2 separate regions of the Homo sapiens genome follow, and region 1 is linked to region 2. Evidence: promoter capture Hi-C in human tissues and cell types (Jung and others, 2019). All regions are on one chromosome and are shown on one strand. The core of a region is centred on a gene start or on the middle of the fragment in contact, and the rest is flanking DNA. Distances in the headings are between cores, read along the strand shown.

Region 1 (2,700 bases), core at 200-2,699, 35 kb after region 2:
ATAATAAAACATACTCTGAGAGCCACTGCAAGTGAAATCTTCTCTGAAGATTTGAGCTTCGTTTGGCATTGGCTGCCAAAAGATGAAGCCAGGGAGATTCCCTGTAGGTATTTTCCTTGGGAACCATCACAGATCCACTGTGAAGAGGAAAGCCAGCCAGTTCTGGAGTGTCATCACCTTTTGCTCCAAGAATATTTGCAATCTTTCCCAAAGGAGGGAGAAAAGATTCTGTATTGGCTTAAAAGATTCTGTATTGGCTTAAAAAGGCTGAATCATTCTCAGAGGTGAGATCTAGGCTACTGAAGGAATGACTCAGAGGAGGTGAATTAAACAGAAAGTTCCCAAATTTCCTCATAGTAAACCTTGGAACCTAGTCTCTCATGAAAGGGTTTCTGTACCAAGAACCTACATCCTTGGGAAAGGTGTTTCCTGAGTTTGCTGTCTGCTAGTTTATACACTCTCTCTAGACAATCAATCTGTGCTGTAGTTCAGAAAGCAAAATGAGATGATGTAAAAAAAAAATTCTCACATTTCTGCTCACACAATGGAAAATTAGATGCAGAAGCACTACATTTAACCAACTTTGTTCAACAATCTTTAGTTACACCTGTTTTATACACACACACAAAACAAGTCATTGGAACATCAAAATGTTAGCCCACTTGGTTCATTAGGAGTTTCATGATATTCGTGCAGTGGGTACTGCCAAGTCCTGGGCATATGGCTCCACCATGTGGATGAGACTCTGCAAATAATACTGACAATATTTTTTTTTCTTTTTTTTAAGACAGAGTCTTGCTCTGTTGCCCAGGATGGAGTGCAATGGCCCAGTAATGGCTCACTGCAGCCTTGACAGCCCAAGCTCAAGTGATCCTCCCACCTCAGCCTCCTGAGTAGCTAGGACCGCAGGCATGCACCACCATGCCTGGCTAATTTTTAAATATTTATTTATTTATTTATTGTAGGAACAGTGTCTCCCTGTTGCCCAGGTTGGTCTCGAACTCCTGGTCTCAAGTGATCCTCTCACTTCAGCCTTCCAAAATGCTGGGATTTTAGGTATGAGCCACCATGTCCGGCTGACAATAATTTTTAAAAAAGAATTTAAAGTTATAATAAAAATCAGAGATCATAGGTCAAACCCTTATTTTATAAATGAAAAGAGTTAAAGCAATTATATGAACTAATTCACTCTTAATTCACCCATTCAATCATTTTAATTATTGAATAATGAGATTAATATGTTCAGTGGGTATTTGCTTTATTTTTGTCTACATATAATCTAAGCCCCTTTTCTACTTGGGAGCAATTTTGTTGTGTAAATGTGGTGGGGCAAAAACCCCACTTCCCTCTAGGGAATGGGAAAGAACATTTAACCTCTCTTCTCACCCCATGAACTAAGATATAGGCATGTCTCTTAGTAAACCAACAGGATATTCAATGCAGGAATGTTGGATCTGTAGTAAGTGACATATTGGGATAGTTAGAGGTTGTTCTGGAGGAGGCAGTAAAACTTGACTAGGTCAAGTAGTCATAGTAGTGGTAGCTGTTCATGCCAGCAGCAATGGTGAGGACCTAGTGGTGGCACTGCTAGTGACAATGTCCTATCAAGCTGTTACTGAGATATAAGTTTAGATACATTTTCTCTTCCCACTCTCTAAGGCCCATTTCCTGAGCGTGGTTATTTAGCCTTCCTATGGACTGTCTGAGCCAACCTATATTCTTCCAGTGTAGTTCTTTTCTGGTTAGTAAAGCCAGAGTCTGTTTTTGTTGTGCAGCAAAAGACCCTCATTTAAACAGAAATTGTTACCAGTCGCTAGTTACAGCACAGAGCCTCAGTGAAATGGGCAGAATCTAGGGTTTGTATCTGACCTTGTTGAGGCTGAAGGAATTTTAAATCCTAATCATTTTAGGGATGGAATTTAGATCTGCCTCATCCTAGCATGGAAAAGTGAAACAGCTAATTAAATTATTTCCTGTGGTCACCTGGAACAAATCCTACTACCCTGTAGTTGTCACATGCTGTGTGGTTGCCAAGACAGGCTGCGTGTAGATGCCCCAGTCACCAGTCCTAGTCTTTGAGTCAGACCAGTTTAGGTACTAGATATGTGAATGAACAAGCTTTCAGATGCTTCCAGCCCACAGTCATTGAGTCATCCCCAGGCTTCGAGACTTCCTAACTGAGGTCACAGACATCATGGAGCAAAGATAAATTGTCTCCCACTCCAATTCCTTACCCACAGAATCCATGATTAGAATAAAGTGATTGTTTTAAAACACAAAGCTGTGGGTTAATTTTTTATGCAACAACAATAACTAGAACAGGAACCTACACCAATTCAGCTGTTAAGGCACTGGTTAGACAGCCAGGCACTTGAAAATAGTGAACTCGGAGCATTGTGGAGGAAGTTTAGGGAAAGGGTATGCTGAAGGGGTATGACCCTTTATAGTGAGCCCAGAACGAGAATATATTTCTTGGAAAGTTATATTCACCACAAAGCCTCTAGTGTGAATAAGGTGACCCACTCAGTAGACATAGGTCACCCTTCTTTCTCAGAAAATTACAGTGGACTCAAGAACCACATGTTCATCATGGAAGGAATGAAGGTTATTCATGGTTTCAACAACATGGAGTTCTTACCAATGGTAATATGGCTACGGTCTTTACAAATGATCCATTTTTTTTTTTTGCAGTTGCAAGAT
Region 2 (2,700 bases), core at 33-2,532:
CTGAGAAGTCATACATTGTTATGCATCCATGATATTGACAGTCTCTAAGTTGCATTTAGTGCATTCATCCTTATGATATTTTACTAATCACTTTTGGAAGTTATGATTTATTAATTATAGCTGTGGTTCATCTCACTTCAAATTTCATTCACAATGTTGCCCACACACAGTCTGTTGATTTTTCAAGCGCTTATAGATATTAAACAGCAAGGCAGTGTTTTGAGGCGGTAAGTTAATAGAACTTGCTAGTATAAATGTACTATAGTCCACTGGAGAGTAATTTTAACTTCACTGAAGTTGGAGCGCTTTGAAAATCAGGAAAAAAAAAGTAACATTTAAATGTATGAATATAAAGGACTATAGATTTTTGTATTGCTGTAACCCTTTTTCTTTCCGAAAGTATGTGCAACTCTAAAGGCACTTAGTGCTGAATGCTATGGAGATTGGGAAACCCTTTAAAGCCTCTATTCTTTCCTGCCGAACAGCAAGACTGCTCGAATGTCAATCCATGCTTTGCTTCTACAGGGTCGCTGTAAGACTCTATGTGGGAGGTGAATACATTTATGCTACGATTTTTTTAAAATATATAAAATAAAATAGAGTTTACTTTGTGAAAATGCATGGCCACGAAGGAACAGAAGGTGATCAGCCTGCAGCCTGAGCTCCTAGTTTCACCACCGATGGGCAGAGGCGAGAGAGATGAGAGCTCTCAATGAAACGGTGATGCTATTTATAAGGCGCTGTGAGATCGCAATGTCCTGCTGATCCGGTAGGAGCCAGCTCAAAGGGGATTGTCTTCAGAGACTTTTACAAACTTGGCCCAGCTCTGGGCACATGGCTCACCCCCTAGGACCGCCTCCTCACCCCCTCGCCGGCTGCCCAGCCAGGACACTCCCCCGCGCCCTCCAGGGTTGCCTACCTGTCTGCAGCACAGCCGCGGGTCCCGTCCGGAAGGGGCAGGAGCGCTCGCGCGTGCAGCCAGGGGGCCGGCGCCAGGTCGTGGGCGTCGCCCCTCCCCTGGGCAGCGCCACACACCTGGGCGGCCAGCGGCGAATCCCGGGCAGCCGCCCTGCTCGCGGCGCTCTGCCCATCTTGCAGGGAAGTGGTCATTGTCGCCGGCCGGGGGGCTCGGGCGTCATGGGAGACTCGGCGCGTGGGGAGAAGGGGTTTGCGCGGCGGGAGGCGAGGTGCCGGCTAGGCAGCCCGAGCGCTCTGCAGGTGTGGTGGCCTCGCCGCCTGCGCTCGGGGCCCCGGCGGCTGAGACGCGCGGCCGAGCTATCTGCGAGGCGGCGGGGGAGGGGAGGGGGCGGAGGAGGAGGGTGGGGAGAGGGGAGGAGCGGCCGGTGGGTGGGGGCCGCGGGCGGCGAGGCAAGGCGCGGAGGGGGCGGGGAGGGCGCGAGAGCGGCTGGCCGGCCCCGCGCGTGGCCCGGGGCGCTCGGGGCCACTGGCATTGCTCCCGCGCCGTCCCATCCGGGACGCGAGGCCGGGACCGCTGCCTCCTCAGGTGGGCACCGGGGCGCGAGGCTGAGCCCAGGGTCTGGGCGGCCCCGGCGCCGCTGGAGGCGGGGACCCAGCCGAGCGGGCGCTCCCGCTGGGCTTGCCGGGAGGACCGCAGGCGGGATAGGGGTCCGCGCAGCCCTGACCCTCATACCCTTGCATTCTTTCTGCTCTGCCATCTGAGATCACCTAAGCTGTTGCTGGGCCGCCATGACAGTCCCCACCGGGCCAGGAGGCCAGGACACCAGAGGGTTTGCCCCAGTCCTTCCCCACGTGCCTCTTCTTCCATCCACTCCGCAGCCAAAGATTGGGGGGTTGATAGGGAGCAAGGAGTCCAATCATTATAGAAAACTACTGAGATTTTGAGAATTCTCAGTAAAGCATGAGTAAACCTGAAGGTGTCTGGAATTAGAAAGACTATTAGTTTTATGGTAATGAGAGAAGCTTACATTAATGAATTCCAGGTTGCCTTACGCTACCTATTCCATCCTCTCAACAGCTCCATAAATTAGATGTTTATCTCATTTTACACAAAAGGAAACTGGGGCTCAAAGCCATCGAGTACCTTGCACTAGTAACATAGCACTAGTAGCTGGTGGAGTCAATATTCCAACCCAGAAGCTTCCTTCTCAAAAACCCAGACTGTTCGAAATAGTAATGACATTATTATGCTCACCCTCTGAGATGCAGCAACCCTACTCTGAAATGCTGGGTGATCCTGTTTCTGCTCTTCCAGTAAGTGTGCCCGTCCCTATGCACCGTTGAGGATTTCCAAATGTTTCACAGGGTCTTTGTTCTTTGACCAAATTAGGTAATATCTGTCCCTGGCATCTGCTTTACCAGGTTTTCTTAATTTCAACAACCTCTGCCCAGGGAAAGGTAAACACTGCCTCCAGAAGAAAGCAGCAGCTCCCCTCCCCCATCTCAGTGCATTCTCTCCCACCGAGGCACCGACCACTGGAGAACCCAGGGGTCACTAATTCCCAACCTGTGAGGAAACCTGGGGCACTCCGTGAAGACAGAAAATCCTTGAGTCACAGTTCAGGGAATCCAAGTTCTTTATTTTCCTAATGTCAAAATTAAGGCCCAGAAGTGACCTGGGTCACAGCGGGTGTGATCTCTGGGATCTTTTATACCAGGGGTCCCCAACCCCTGGGCCCTGGACCACACCATACCAGTCCATGGACTGTGAGAAACCAGGCC

Evidence for each region. The method cuts DNA at HindIII sites, captures the fragments that hold promoters and counts their contacts. A contact is called where the count stands out against the background at its distance.
Region 1: a fragment that was not itself captured here is called in contact with the fragment with the promoter of GRB14 in region 2 in 1 of the 25 tissues and cell types used here (hippocampus).

What each region holds. Positions count from the first base shown.
Region 1 is chr2:164,655,225-164,657,924 of GRCh38, forward strand. No RefSeq gene overlaps it. Among named protein-coding and RNA genes, the nearest start is that of SNORA70F, 31 kb to the right of the region's middle. The HindIII fragment of the contact is 5,343 bases long and covers 1-2,700 here.
Region 2 is chr2:164,620,200-164,622,899 of GRCh38, forward strand. GRB14 (growth factor receptor bound protein 14) reads right to left here and starts at 1,283. Exons shown (of 14, transcript NM_004490.3): 1 at 920-1,283. The coding sequence starts at 1,110. The HindIII fragment of the contact is 12,551 bases long and covers 1-2,700 here.